2 separate regions of the Homo sapiens genome follow, and region 2 is linked to region 1. Evidence: promoter capture Hi-C in human tissues and cell types (Jung and others, 2019). All regions are on one chromosome and are shown on one strand. The core of a region is centred on a gene start or on the middle of the fragment in contact, and the rest is flanking DNA. Distances in the headings are between cores, read along the strand shown.

Region 1 (7,652 bases), core at 3,006-5,505:
GAGATCTGAATGAGGAGTAGAAGTTGGCCAAGAGGGCAAACAAGGACTCCAAACAGAGGGACTGGCATGGACAAGGCCGGGTGAGGGTACATAGCTTATCTGATAAATTGTTTAGGGTTCATGTGGCAAGAGATGATTCAGGGGCTAGGAACTGAAGTCTCTGTGGCTAGCTAAGGGAGTCTGGGTTTGTCTTGGAACCATGGGACACACTGAATGATTTAATTCAGGGAAAAACTCAACTAGAACCATGGTCTCTGGGAAAGCAACAATTTCTAGTATGTGGCAGAAATTGCTCGATATTCATAAAATGCCTTTCTTTTTCCTCCTGGGCACAGGGCTAGACTACAATTCCCAGGCTCGATTGCAGTCAGGTGAAGCCACGTGACTGAGTTTGAGCCCATCAAATATAGGTGAGAGGGATATATGGTATTTCTAGGCCTAGCCCATAATAATTTCCTGCACAGCCCTCCACATTCTCTTTTTCCCATTTTGCTGGAGAAGATCTGAGGACCTAGATGGGGCAGCTCCAAGATGGAAGTGGCCTGGATCCCTGAGTCACCATTTGGAGACGAGCCTGTCATGGACTATTATGTGAGCAAAGAATCCATTTTTTGGGGGGTGGGGGGGTGGGATGGAGTGTCGCTCTGTGGCCCAGGCTGGAGTGCTGTGGTGTGATCTCGGCTCGCTGCAACCTCCGTCTTCCAGGTTCAAGCGATTCTCCTGCCTCAGCCTCCTGAGTAGCTGGGATTACAGGCGTGTGCCACCATGCCCAGCTAATTTTTGTATTTTTGGTAGAGATGGGGTTTCACCATGTTGGTCAGGCTGGTCTTGAACTCCTGACCTTGTGATCTGCCCGCGTTGGCCTCCCAAAGTGCTGGGATTACAGGTGCGAGCCAGTGCATCCAGCTTAGTTTTTCTTTGTTCAAGGGACTAAGCAAGAACAGATGAAGGCATGGGTGAAAACAAGAGAGAATTATTCTGGAAGCAGTACTGGCAGGATTTGAGCAAATAATGAGGGGGATGGGGAAGCCTTGGGTCAGACTATCTTATGTTGCTATTTATAGGATGTGGAAGGAAGGGTCTAAGAAACATCTTGTATGATGTGCTGTGGGATATGGAGGAGGTAGAGAACAGGGCTAAAAATAACCTTCCTAGAGGTGCAGATATTTGGCAGAGACCCTGTATTCCTGGGCCTCTCGCTGACATGGGCTGTCAACAAACTGTCACGCTCTTCTCTAGATATGTCCACTTCTGTCCTGAAGCAGATATTTTTATGTACACAGCCATGGGTGAGTTCTTAACTTCTTTGTGCCTCGTTTTTATCATCTGAAGATGGTGATAATAAGTGATAGGACTTATCTCAAAGGGGTTTACGAATATATACCGAGTGTTTAGCATGGTGTTGGAGATGTAGTGAGTAGTTGAGAAATGTCAGAAATGAGCATTAAAATTCCGTTAGCTCTAGCTTGACTTCTCTATCAGTGCATACAAACACTCAAAGATAAAGCTATGAGACAGAGCAGGATTTTGCCTGTCTTGTTCACTGCTACATCTCCAGCCAGCTTAGAACAGTGACTGGCTTGCAGCAGCTATTTAAATGTTTGGTGAGTGAATGAATGAATAAGGAACTCATCTCATTTTCTTTCCTTCCTCCTTCCTTTCTCCCTTCCTTCCTCCCTCCCTTCCTTTCTTTCTTCCCTTCTTTCCAACCATCCATCCATCCATCCATCCATTCATCCATCCACCCACCCATCTATCCATCCATCCATCCATCCATCCATCCATCCACCCACCCACCCACCCAACCATCTATCTATCCATCCATCCATCCACCCATCCATCCATGCATCCACCCATCCATCCACTTATCCATCCATCCATCCATCCATCCATCCATCCATCCATCCATCTCTCTTAGAAAGGCAGTAGAGTGTAGTGGGTTAGCTCACAAGTATTTTTTTTCAATTGTGGCAAGATACACATAAAATAAAATATGCCATTTTAACCTTTTTTTTTTTGAGATGGAGTCTCATCCTCTCACCCAGGCTGGAGTGTAGTGGTGTGATCTCAGCTCACTACAACCTCTGCCCCCCAGGTTCAAGCGATTCTCCTGCCTCAGCTTCCCAAGTAGCTGGGATTACAGGCGTGCACCACCACACCCAGCCAATTTTTGTATTTTTAGTAGAGACAGGGTTTCACCATGTGGCCAGACTGGTGTCAAACTCCTAAAATCAAGTGATCCTCCTGCCTTGGTCTCCCAAAGTGCTGAGATTACAGGTGTGAGCCAAGCACACCCAGCATTTGGAACCATTTTTAAGTGTACATTTCAGTGACATTAAGTACTTCACATTGTTGTGCCACTGTATCATCCATCCCAAAACTTTCCTCCCAAACAGGAAATCTGTACCCGCTAAACACAAACTCTTCATTCTCCCTTCCCCTCGGGCCGTGGAAACCACCATTCTACTTCTGTCTCTATGAATTTGACTAGTCTAGGTACTTCATACAAGTGGAATCAGATACAGTATTTATCCTTTTGTGACAGCCCACAAGTTCTGTGATCATATAAGCTGTGTAATCTTGGGAAACTCAATCTTCCTGACACTCCACTTCCTCGTCTGTGAAATGGTTGTAATAATAGTACCTGCTTCACAGGGTGGCAGTGAGGTTTAAATGAGATAATAGAAGGCACTTAGCCCCAGTGCCTGGCACATAGAAAGTGCTCACTATTAGCTATTAGTTACAGCTAAGCATGTATTGTAAATTAGTGGACACTGGTATTGTGTGTCTAGCACTGTCCTGAGCACTTTACCCGTATTATCTCATTTAAACTTCCCAACGACCCTATGACATGGTGAAACCACTAACATCCACACCTAACAGATGAGAAAACAAAGGCCCAGAGAGGCCAAGTCATGTGCCCAAGGGTTACATAGCTAGTTTACAGCAGAGCTGGGATTGAACGCCAGGCAGCCTATTTCCAAAGTTCATGGGTCTTGCCGCTGCATTGCATTACCTCTTGCCAGTCTCTGCTGCCTCTGTCTGTGAAGGATCGTCATCTATACACTCAGTCCTGGCTCAGGCTGTCACGGTGACTGCAGGTGTTTGAAGCTGTGGGACTCATTGGAAAAATAATTGAAAATGGGATTGCTGTTTCTTTCTTTTCTTTTTTCTTTCTTTCTTTCTTTTTTTTTTTTTTTTTTTTAGACAGGGTCTCACTCTGAGGCTGAAGTGCAGTGGCGCGATCTTGGCTCACTGCAACCTCTGGGTCCTGGGTTCAAGTGATTCTCATGCCTCATCCTCCTGAGTAGCTGGGATTACAGGCAAACACCAACACGCCCTCTCTTTCTTTCTCCTTCCTTCCTTCTTTTCTTTCTTTTTCTTTTTTCTTTCTTTCTTTCTTTCTTTCTTTCTTTCTTTCTTTCTTTCTTTCTTTCCTTCCTTCTTTTCTTTCTTTCTTTTTCTTTCTTTTTCTTTCTTTCTTTCTTTCTTTCTTTCTTTCTTTCTTTCTTTCTTTCTTTCTTTTTCTTTCTTTCTTTCTTTCTTTCTTTCTTTCTTTCTTTCTTTCTTTCTTTCTTTCTTTTCTTTCCTTTCTTTCTTTCTCTGTCTTTCTTTCTTCTTTCTCTTTCCTTTTTTTTTTTTTTCAGAGCCTTGCTCTGTTGCCCAGGCTGGAGTGCAGTTGCACAATCTTGGCTCTGCGCAATCTTCGTCTCCCAGGTTCAAATGATTTTCCTGCCTTAGCCCCCCAAGTAGCTGGGATTACAGGCGTGCACCACCACGCCCGGCTGAGTTTTGTATTTTTAGTAGAGACGGGGTTTCACCGTGTTAGCCAGGATGGTCTCAATCTCCTGACCTCGTGATCCACCTGCCTCGGCCTCCCAAAGTGCTGGGATTACAGGCGTGAGCCACTGCACCTGGCTGTTTGCTGTTTCTTAACATGTGAGGTTCCAACCCAGTGGGGCCCACTAACATGTGCTGTTCTGCTTTGGACCGTGGGGAGCTGGGGTGCTGGACCCATCTCCCACCTTCTACAGCCTGGAGTGTGCTCCCAGATGACACAGCCAAGCTGGCGTGTTTTTCCCTCACTGGCGGAAAGTTCAGCAATCCCTGACTCCCTCACCCTGCCCTGTTGAGATTTAAAAAAATTTCCTCTTCTGGGCCTCAGAGCCGCCTCCTACCTGAGGTTTATTGCTTTCTCTGCACCAGCATTGAGCCTCTGCAGCCCTTTAAAAGGGGCAGAGCCCATAGTGTGATCAGCAGGTCCTGTCCCTAGGAGATAAGAGTATCTTGCACAGCAGGTGCAGGTTTCCCAGCAGCTCAGGCAAGAGTCCGATGTTTGTGCCATCTGATCCTGATGTCTGGAGAGGTGAGCCCTCTGTCGGCATCTTCCTCTCCAGGCTGGCAGAGCAAGGGGGGCTGTGAATTAATTCAAGGTTGGGGGTCGGGGCCTTCTATATCTGGACTTGCCTCCCACCCGTGTCCTCTGTCCCTTTTTCCCTACGGCAGATAGCCATGTGTGAGCCTGAATTTGGCAATGACAAGGCCAGGGAGCCGAGCGTGGGTGGCAGGTGGCGAGTGTCCTGGTACGAACGGTTTGTGCAGCCATGTCTGGTCGAACTGCTGGGCTCTGCTCTCTTCATCTTCATCGGGTGCCTGTCGGTCATTGAGAATGGGACGGACACTGGGCTGCTGCAGCCGGCCCTGGCCCACGGGCTGGCTTTGGGGCTCGTGATTGCCACGCTGGGGAATATCAGGTGAGACCAGCTCTGAGGATTCAGCCTGATGCTGACTTGGGGCACTGGGTGTGGAAAGCAAAGGCGTTGTCAAGGACCCCTGGGCGCATACGTATTCGGGATTTCAAGGAGCGCTCTGGATAACTATGGGGTTGGGAGTCAGACTGGGGTCAACTCCAGACCCCGCAGCCTGTGAGCTTGTGACTTTGAGCAAGTCATTCTCTTTTTGAGTAGCTGGATCACAGGCATGCGCCGCAGCACCCAACTAATTTTTAAATTTTGTTGTAGAGATGGGGTCTCACTATGTTGCCCAGGCTAGTCTTGAACTCCTGGTCTCAAGCGATCCTCCTGCCTTGGCTTCCCAAAGTTTTGGGATTACAGGCATGAGACACCATGCCTGGCTGGCAAGTTACTCTCTAAACCCAAAGTTCCCCGCCTATAAAATGGGAATAGTAGCTTTTAAATGTTTTTTTTTTCAAGCCAACATATCTATATTGCTAACCATGTACCAGGCACTAGTCTAATTACTTTATAGATATTAGTTATTTAATCCTCACAAAAGCCTTGTGGGGTAGGTCCTGTTATTAGCCCCATTGTACAGCTGCAAAAGTGAAAGGCCATGTAATCTGTCCAAGCTTAGAGGGCCAGAAAGTGGCAGAGGCGGGAGTCAAGAACAAGCTGTCTGGCTCCAGCGCTCAAATCCAAGTGCCTCATGCGGAAGTCATGAGAATTAAATGAAGTAGAGCGCCTGGCACACACCAAACATACAACAGGCATTGGTTGCTGTGTTATTGTTACCACTAGAAGGGGGTTTTAGGGAAAGCAGAAATGCATAGAAGACCTGAGCCAGGTTTTCCCACCTGGGTATGCAGAGATCTGCAGTGGTCCTGGCTTGTCAAGAGGTGATCAAGAAGGAGGGGCAGGGAAAGGGACAGGCTTCTCTGGCTTAGCTCTCGTCTGGGTAGAGGCTCAATGGGGAGGTCTGTGGACATGGCTGCTGGTTCCCAGGAGAGCCAGCCATCACGACGAAGATCTTGAGTGGGGTGCCTGGCAGGGTGATCTGGGACATGGTTGGTCTGTATTAAATCTCACTCAAAAAATAGATCTGAATGAGGAAACAGAAATACTATTTCTGAGAAAACCAGAATGGAAAAGAGCTTTAACATCTCTTTAGGCCGGGTGCAGTGGCTCACGCCTGTAATCCCAGCACTTTGGGAGGCTGAGGCGGGTGGATCACCTGAGGTCAGGAGTTGGAGAGCAGCCTGGCCAACAGGGTGAAACCCTGTCTCTACTAAAGATACAAAAATTAGCTGGGCGTGGGGGCAGGCACCTGTGGTCCCAGCTACTTCGGAGGCTGAGGCAGGAGAATTGCTTGAACTGGGAGGGAGAGGTTGCAGTGAGCCGAGATTGTGCCACTGCACTCCAGCCTGGGCAACAGAGTGAGACTCCATCTCCAAAAAACAAACAAACAAACAAACAAACAAAAAACAAACCACATCTCTTTAGACGTCCAAGGGAGGCTGCAAGTGAAACAAAAAGTACATGATCTTCCCTTTGGACGGATCTGAGATTGAAGGCAACCTTTATCACTTCTTAGCAGGGTGACCACAGCAAGTTGCTGAAGCCTCTGTGTGCAGTGGTATAAATATGAGTAATAATAATAGCTGATGTTTTTTGAATGCTAACTACATAGATACTACTATGGGCTGTACAAATATTAATTCTTAATATCTTTGCAATAGCTTTATCAGGCAGAGATCATTGAGGCACAGAGAGGTTATGTAACTTTGCCAATGCCACACAGCTCTTCAGTGGCAGAGTTGAGCTTTGAACCCAGGCCAGCTGGCTGGAAAGACCATCTCTTTGGCACTGCAAATACTGCCTCTCTGTTTGGCTTTTTTGACAAATATTTATTCAGCACCTATTGCGTGCCAGACACTGACTTTGAGGTTGTTCACTGGATCCAGGATAAGCTATGTATGTAAGTTATAAGCACCCAGCACAGCCCCTGGCACACAGTAAGTGTCAGAGAAATATATGCTGAGTGAACAATGAATGAATGAATGAATGTGTCTTGATTGTTTTATTGCTAATGAGTGTAAACCAGGAAATGTGTGGTTTTCGTCACCTGGCCCTCCTGATAGAGCCATGCTCTGGGTGACAGTTTCTCTCCCCTTTGGGGCTCCCCTGGGAAGCCGCCTCACCCTGACTTCATCTGTGTATCTCAGCAGAGCCCAGGCTAAGCTACTTGAGGCCAAGTAGGCCTGGCTGCCCCTCTTCCCAACCTGTGGAGTCTGAGCACTGGCTGGTGCTTTCAAACCATGCATGGAGGTCAGGCGCAGTGGCTCACGCCTGTAATCCCAGCACTTTGGGAGGCCGAGGCAGGTGAATCACCTGAGGTCAGGAGTTCGAGACCAACCTGGCCAACATGGTGAAACCCCGTCTCTACCAAAAATACAAAAATTAGCCGGGCGTGGTGGCAGCCCCGTTATCCCATCTACTTGGGAGGCTGAAGCAGAAGAATCGCTTGAAACCAGGAGGCGGAGGTTGCAGTGAGCCGAGATTGCACCATTGCACTCCAGCCTGGGTGACAAAGGGAGACCCTGTCTCAAAAAAAAAAACAAAAAACAAAAAACAAATCAAATCAAACCGTGCATGGAGCTTATCTGAGGGCCTGGGCCCAGAGCTGAGCCAGACAAGTTGGGGTAGCTGGTCTCGAGCTATCAGGGTGTTGGACAAAGTCCTTTTGGGCAGAGCTGAGGTCCTCTGCCCAGTCTCAACTGAATGTCCTATGTCCTTTGGAGGATGGGTAAGCTCATTGGTGGGCTCTTTACATTAGGGGGGCACTTTGGTTCTCAAGTGACATGGGGAGTCTTGGGGTCCCTTTCTCTCTCATTGGGGAGTATCCATTCCTGGAAA
Region 2 (7,652 bases), core at 1,338-3,837, 310 kb before region 1:
CTTTGGGAGGCCGAGGCGGTGGATCACTTGAGGTCAGGTGTTCAAGACCAGGCTGGCCAACATGGTGAAACCTCATCTCTACTAAAAATACAAAAATTAGCTGTGGTGGCGTGTGCCTGTAATCCCAGCTACTCAGGTGGCTGAGGCAGGAGAATCGTTTGAACCCAGGAGGCAGAGGTTGCAGTGAGCCAAGATGACGCACTGCACTCCCGCCTGGGTGACAGAGTGAGACTCTGTCTCAAAAAAAAAAATTAAAATAATAAAATAAAATAAGCTGGGAGTGTTGGCATGTGTCTGTAATCCCACCTATTCGGGAGGCTGAGGCAGGAGGATCACTTGAGCCCAGGAGTTGGAGGCTGCAGTGAGCTATGCTCTCACCACTGCACCCCGGCCTTGGCAACAGAACAAGACCCTGTCTATTAAAAGAGACAGAGAGAGGGAAAGAGGAGTAAATGTTCAGATGATGCTAATTTGTGCCTCTCGCCGCCGGCACCAGGGTGTTTGTGCTGCTGCTGGTCCTGGTCTCCATCCTCTGGATCCCTGTGGTCCAGGCCAGCCAGGGCGGCCAGCTCTTCATCTATATCCAGTCCATCAGCTCCTACCTGCAGCCGCCTGTGGCGGTGGTCTTCATCATGGGATGTTTCTGGAAGAGGACCAATGAAAAGGTAGCTCTGGATGGCTCCCACTATGCCAGAACCAAGTGCTGCCCCTTGAGGACTGGGATAGGATGGGAGGGGAGGGTGTTGGAGGGAGACACAGGCTGGAATTGGGTGTTGAGAGGGAGGGTGAGTTCCATTGGTGGAAGATACAGGGAGGGTGTTTATCTGACCTTTGCAAAAAAGCAATGAGAGGGCTGCTGCGATGGCTCACACCTGTAATCCCAGCACTTTGGGAGGCCGAGGTGGGTGGATCACTTGAGGTCAGGAGTTTGAGACCAGCCTGGCCAACATGGTGAAAGCCCATCATTACTCAAAATACAAAAATTAGCCGGGTGTGGTGGTGGGCGCCTGTAATCCCAGCTACTCAGATGCTGAGGCAGGAGAATCACTGGAACCTGGGGGGCAGAGGTTGCAGTGAGCTGAGACCACGCCACTGCACTCCAGCCTGGGCGACAGAGTGAGACTGTCTCAAAAAAAAAAAAAAAAAAAAAGCAATGAGAGGTTCTCATGAAAAGTATCTTGATGCATTTTTTGTTATTGAACAGGGAAGCTAAATTAAGAGGGAGTTAGTAAACTATTAGTAATCAATTCATTATAAAAAGATAAATGGTTAAGTATTGCAGAACCTTTTCAAATTGCTGACCCGTGCTTGCAGTGACCACCACAAGAAAGACAAGTCCTGGAGATGGCTTCTTGAGGTTCCTGGAGGCCAGAGCCCTTGGCGTCTCTAAGATGATCTTGCTCTGATTTTGCAGGGTGCCTTCTGGGGCCTGATCTCGGGCCTGCTCCTGGGCTTGGTTAGGCTGGTCCTGGACTTTATTTACGTGCAGCCTCGATGCGACCAGCCAGATGAGCGCCCGGTCCTGGTGAAGAGCATTCACTACCTCTACTTCTCCATGATCCTGTCCACGGTCACCCTCATCACTGTCTCCACCGTGAGCTGGTTCACAGAGCCACCCTCCAAGGAGATGGTACATTTGGGCTGATGGCTAGATCCGTTGAGACTTTTTGTTGGAAGTGACAGAAAACTGACTCAAACTGACTTAAGCGAAGGAGACTGATTGTCCAAAAAGCTGAAAAGTCCAGGGTTGAGGTTCAGGGGCAGGATGATTTGGGACTCTGAAAAGGTCATCAGAATCCATCTGCACTTCTGCTTCAATTCTTAGGTCCCATATGGAGCCCAGTATCTTCTAGAGATACATCCTCTTTTACTGTCATTAAGTAAACATAAGGCTGGGGTGCGGTGGCTCATGCCTGTAATCCCAGCACTTCGGGAAGCTGAGATGGGAGGATCACTTGAGGCCAGGAGTTTGAGACCAGCCTGGGCAATATAGTGAGATCCCGTCTCTTAAAAAAATGAAAAAATTAGCAGGGCGTGATGGCTCATGCCTGTAATCTCAGTTACTAGAGAGGCTGAGGTGGGAGGATTGCCAGAGCCCAGGAGTTTTGATGGTGCAGTGAGCTATGACCATGCCACTGCACTTCCAGCCTTGGTGACAGAGCAAGACCCTGTCTCACAAAAAAAAAAAAAAAAAAAAAAAGGAAAAGAAAAAATTAGCAGGGCGTGATGGCTCATGCCTGTAATCCCAGCTGCTAGGGAGGCTGAGGCAGGAGGATTGCTTCAGCCCAGGAGTTTAAGGCTGCAGTGAGCTATGACCATGCCACTGCACTCCCACCTGGGTGACAGAACAAGAGCCTGTCTTTAAAAAAAAAAAAAAAAAAAAAAAGTAAAAATAAGCATTAATATTTCTGTCCCAGAATTTCTAGAGAATTTCTAGATTTCCATTGATGGAGTCAGCTCAGGACACATGCTCATCCGTGAACCAATTCAATCCCTGTGGCCAGAGAAACGGATGAGCTGAAATGACCAGTTCTGGGGTCCTGCAATACTCTAGGGTGAGGGTTAAGCTCTGGGGATTAGAATGAGGGATAATCACATCCCAGCAACAGGAGGATGGGGTTTATCGGAGAAAGACGTGGGAATGAGCAGGGGAATTGTGCGCTGATGTTGAAGAGTGCAGGAACATGATGCTTGTTGGAGGATGGGGTGGGAGGGTGGGGCTGGGAGCAGATTCAGACACAAAGGCTGAGTGTGGGGTTGGGTGGGGAGTGTGAGAAAAGGATGGACAACCCCGGCCCCACCTCCACCACAAATCTCATCATTCATCCCTGCTCCTTAGGTCAGCCACCTGACCTGGTTTACTCGTCACGACCCCGTGGTCCAGAAGGAACAAGCACCACCAGCAGCTCCCTTGTCTCTTACCCTCTCTCAGAACGGGATGCCAGAGGCCAGCAGCAGCAGCAGCGTCCAGTTCGAGATGGTTCAAGAAAACACGTCTAAAACCCACAGCTGTGAGTAGCTTCTCTCCTCAGTTACAGCAAGAAGGAGTACGTGTTAAAGGGATTGATTTTTTTTTTTTTCCTATCAAATCACAAGCCAGGAAAGTGGGCAGACTTGGAGTTTTAGCATCCTCTGGCTCCAGTGTCTGATCTGTCCCCACGCTCCGGCCATGGGAAAGGAGTTTTTAGTAACTTTCAACAAGCTTCCTACGGGCACTAACAGCAAACAAACACTTGTTGAGTGCCTACGGAGACACGGTTGGTTCATTTCATCCTTATTCTCTGCACATGGGTAGGCAGGAACACAACTTGCCTTCTCTCAGTTAGTGCTTCTAAACTGGCGGCTTGCAGACATATTTTGGCTTAGCCCACCTACAGTTTCAACAAAATGTGAGTTAACATTTAAAAATTGAGAGATTTTGGCCGGTCAGCATGGCTCAGGCCTGTAATCCCAGCACTTTGGGAGGCCGAGGTGGGTGCATCACTTGAAATCAGGAGTTCAAGACCAGCCTGGCCAACATGGTGAAATCCTGTCTCTACTAAAAATATAAAAATTAGCCGGGCATGGTAGCGCATGCCTATAGTCCCAGCTACTTGGGAGGCTGAGGCAGGAGAATCGCTTGAACCTGGGAGGTGGAGGTTGCAGTGAGCCGAGATCACGCCACTGCACTCCAGCCTGGACGACAGAGTGAGACTCTCTCAAAAAAAAAAAAAAAAAAAAGGGAGATTTCAGTCGGGCATAGTGGATGGTGGTTCACGCCTGTAATCCCAGCACTTGAACACATCTGGTGAGTGTCCCTGTCTCACCTCTCTGGGAGATACAGACCACCTCTACGGTCTTCCTTTGCTGGGTTCTTTCTAGGTGACATGACCCCAAAGCAGTCCAAAGTGGTGAAGGCCATCCTGTGGCTCTGTGGAATACAGGAGAAGGGCAAGGAAGAGCTCCCGGCCAGAGCAGAAGCCATCATAGTTTCCCTGGAAGAAAACCCCTTGGTGAAGACCCTCCTGGACGTCAACCTCATTTTCTGCGTGAGCTGCGCCATCTTTATCTGGGGCTATTTTGCTTAGTGTGGGGTGAACCCAGGGGTCCAAACTCTGTTTCTCTTCAGTGCTCCATTTTTTTAATGAAAGAAAAAATAATAAAGCTTTTGTTTACCACAAGGCTTCCAAGTGTTTATAGACCATTTTCAACATGACACTTAGCTCTTTTCTTTTTTCTTTTTTTCTTTTTTTTTTTTTTGAGACAGTGTCTCGCTCTGCCACCCAGGATGGAGTGCAGTGGCATGGTCATAGCTCACTGCAACGTCAAACTCCTGGGCTCAAGTGATCCTCCCTCCTCAGCCTCACAAGTTTCTAGGACTACAGGCACACACTACCATGCCTGGCTAATTTTTCCTTTTTTCAAAGAGATGTGGTCTATGTTGCCCAGGCTGGTCCTGAACTCCTGGCCTCAAGTGATCCCCCCACCTCAGCCTCCCAAAGTACTAGGATTACAGGCATGAGCCACGATGCCCAGCCTCTTTTCTTCTTGAAAATAATGAAGGTTAGAAGATGGAAAGAGGAGAGACATGTAAAAGCTTCCTTTTGCAAAAGACTAGTTATTCATTCTTCTTATCCATTGTGCAACATCAATACCCAAATTCAAAGGGATAAAGAAGCAAAGGGACTTACAAGACCTCCCAGGCTGACAGCAGCCACATCTCCGGGGTTGGATATTTAGCATCTGAACTTGCCCAGCTCACCTTCACAGTGCAAAGAATGGGACCTGCATTCTATCTCTTGCCTTCCACTGTGGCTGGCTTTGGGTGAAGGTCCCCGAGTTTTCTCACTGTGATACTTTCTCCTAGATATTTCTTGGAAATAGACCCCAGTTGGTACTCTGAAATCTTGTGCTGTAAGAAAATCAGGGAATTGTGTGCACTTCTCAAGTTCTGGCTTAGACTCTTGTTTTTGAGACAGGGTCTCTCTCACTCTGTCACCCAGGCTGGAATGTAGTGGCACCCTGAGATCTCACTGCAGTCTTGACTTCCTGGGCTCATGTGATCCTCCCACCTCAGCCTCCTGAGTAGCTGGGACTACAGACATGCACCACCATGCCTGGCTAATTTTTAAAATTTCTTCGCAGAGACATGGGGGGCGGGTCTCTCCTATGTTGCCTGAGCTGGTTTTAACCTCCTGGGCTCAAGCAATCCTCCTGCCTTGGCCTCCCAAAGTGCTGGGATTACAGGTGTGAGCCACGCACCCAGCCTTAGACTGTGTTTCTTTGCTTAATTCCCCATGATGATGCTTCCCTAAAAAGAAGCAGCCAGGTGGATGTGCATCTCAATGAACCTCCCCACCAAAAGCCAGTAAGGCTTTGACCTGCAGAGCAGCGGCCTCCTGTTCTGGGTAGAGCCAGCCTCCTCAGCTTCCCAGCTTTGGGCCCACTGGAGTCTGACGGAATGACCCATCAGGGCTGCGTTTGCCACGTGCAGAGCTAAGAGCAGGACAGGGCCAACGGAGTGAGCCCTGAGACCATCTCTGGAGTAGCTCAGGGCCATGAACCATCCAGGCCTGGGATAAGGTGGGGTGGACTAGAACCCCTTCCTGGCCTGACAGAGCTGGAAAGCAGAGGAGTCTCTCGAGGGACCCCAATTTTCAGACCAGAGGAAAGTAAACAGGACCCCCTGGGGCTGAGGAGCTGCCCACCCACTTAATCCTCCAGTGATGATGTCTTTCTGGTTCCTACTTGATGCCAACAGCTAGGACTGGCCTGGTGCACAGGCAAATAATGTATTGGTCCAGCCTCAGCTCTGCTCATAGGCCCAGCTCTCTACAGGAATCCAAATAGCAGTAGTAGGTTGGACAAAGGGCACCCCCAGCCCTCCTGGGAAGGGGTATGGGCGGGGAACTGGCTGCTAACATGGCTCCAGGCAGGAGCGTGGAATGGTTCTGGAGCAAGTGGGCTCAAGGAGAAGTCTTCACCGGGGAGGTTGAGCTTCTGCCTCCAAGGCCCAAAGAAGGGGAGTGGGCGGCATGGGAGGCTTCCACTACAGTCCTGAGCTCCCCGTCCAAGCCTGCCCCTCACACCAAGACCCCTGTTGCCTCTGGCTGGGGTCAACAGTGTGTTTCAGCAGGGACGCACTGAGCTGTCACTATGATAGCTCAGGCCACCCCCATCTCTGCCCGGACTCCTGACTGCCTTCTCACATCCAGTCTTCCCATTCTCCAGCCACTGGCAGGGTGAGCAACTCGGATCAAGCCAATCCTCTGCTTGGAATCCTTCAGAGACCTTCCCACTCAGGATGAACTCTGCAATCCTTTGCCTTCCTTTTTTTTTTTTTTTTTTTTTTTTTTTTTGAGACAGGCTCTCACTCTGTTGCCCAGGCTGGAACACAGGGTGCGATCATGGCTCAATGCATTCTCAAACTCCCAGGCTCAGGTGATCCTCCCACCTCAGCCTCCTGGGTAGCTGGGACTACAAGTACGCACCACCATGCCTGGCAATTTTTGTTGGTTGTTGTTGTATTTTGTGGAGAAGGCATTTTGCCATATTGCCCAGGCTGGTCTCCAACTCCTGGGCTCATGTGATCCACCTGCCTTGGCCTCCCAAAGTGCTGGGATTACAGGTGTGAGCCCCCATATCTGGCCTTTTTTTTTTTTTTTTTTTTTTTTTTTTTTTTTACAGACAGGGTCTTGCACTTTGTCACCCAGGCTGGAGTGCATTGGCATGATCATGACTTACTGGACCCTCGAACTCCTGCCTCAACCTCTTGAGTAGCTGGAACTACAGACATTTGGCCACCATACCTGGCTAATTTTAATTTTTTTATGTAGATGGGGTCTTACTATGTTGCCCTGGCTGGTCTCAAACTGCCGGCTTCAAGCAATTCACCCACCTCAACCTCTCAAAGTGCTGAGATTACAGGTGTGAGCTGCTGTGCCCAGCCAGCTGAGAGATTTTAAATGTTCTCGCCACAAAAAATAAATGATAATGGAGGTGATGGATATATTAATTAGCTAGATTTAACCATTCTGCAATGTATACATATACAAAAACATGTCGTATACCATAACTTTTATCAATTTAAAAAACCAGTGCAGTGCAAATACAATTTACAGATGTGCACAGAAACTGAATTCAGGCCAGGTGCAGTGGCTCACATCTGTAATCCCAGCACTTCAGTGGGCTGAGGTGAGTGGATCACCTGAGGTCAGGAGTTCAAGACCAGCCTGGCCAACAGATCAAAACCTCATCTCTACTAAAAATAAAAAAATTAGCCTGGCATGGTGGTGGGTGCCTGTAGTCCCAGCTACTTGGGAGGCTGAGGCAGGAGAATGGCTTGAACCTGGGAGGCAGGGGTAGCAGTAAGCCGAGATCATGTCACTGCACTCCAGCCTGGGTGACAGAGCAAGATTCCATCTTAAACAAATAGAATGACAACCAAAAACCCCAAATTCAAATACAAGTAGAAAGAGTGAAAACAGAACCCTGAGGATTTTTTTAGGTTGGGGTTCTTCCTTGTATCAAATATCCCCCTCCCCACATGTCATTTGTGATGATGTTTCGTGTGTGAAGGATAGACCCTAAGGTGACCCTCAATCATCCCTACTTCCTGGGAAGTGGATCCTTCCCCAGCCCAGCCTCCAGATGAGATCCCAGCCCTGGCTGCT

Evidence for each region. The method cuts DNA at HindIII sites, captures the fragments that hold promoters and counts their contacts. A contact is called where the count stands out against the background at its distance.
Region 2: a contact is called between a fragment that was not itself captured here and the fragment with the promoter of AQP8 in region 1, in 1 of the 25 tissues and cell types used here (spleen).

Annotation. Positions count from the first base shown.
Region 1 is chr16:25,212,692-25,220,343 of GRCh38, forward strand. AQP8 (aquaporin 8) reads left to right here and starts at 4,256. Exons shown (of 6, transcript NM_001169.3): 1 at 4,256-4,366; 2 at 4,507-4,754. The coding sequence starts at 4,355. The HindIII fragment of the contact is 27,087 bases long and covers 1-7,652 here.
Region 2 is chr16:24,907,467-24,915,118 of GRCh38, forward strand. SLC5A11 (solute carrier family 5 member 11) reads left to right here. Exons shown (of 17, transcript NM_001352248.3): 14 at 497-665; 15 at 1,415-1,630; 16 at 2,840-3,011; 17 at 3,862-4,160. The coding sequence ends at 4,067. Among named protein-coding and RNA genes, the nearest start is that of SLC5A11, 65 kb to the left of the region's middle. The HindIII fragment of the contact is 3,545 bases long and covers 816-4,360 here.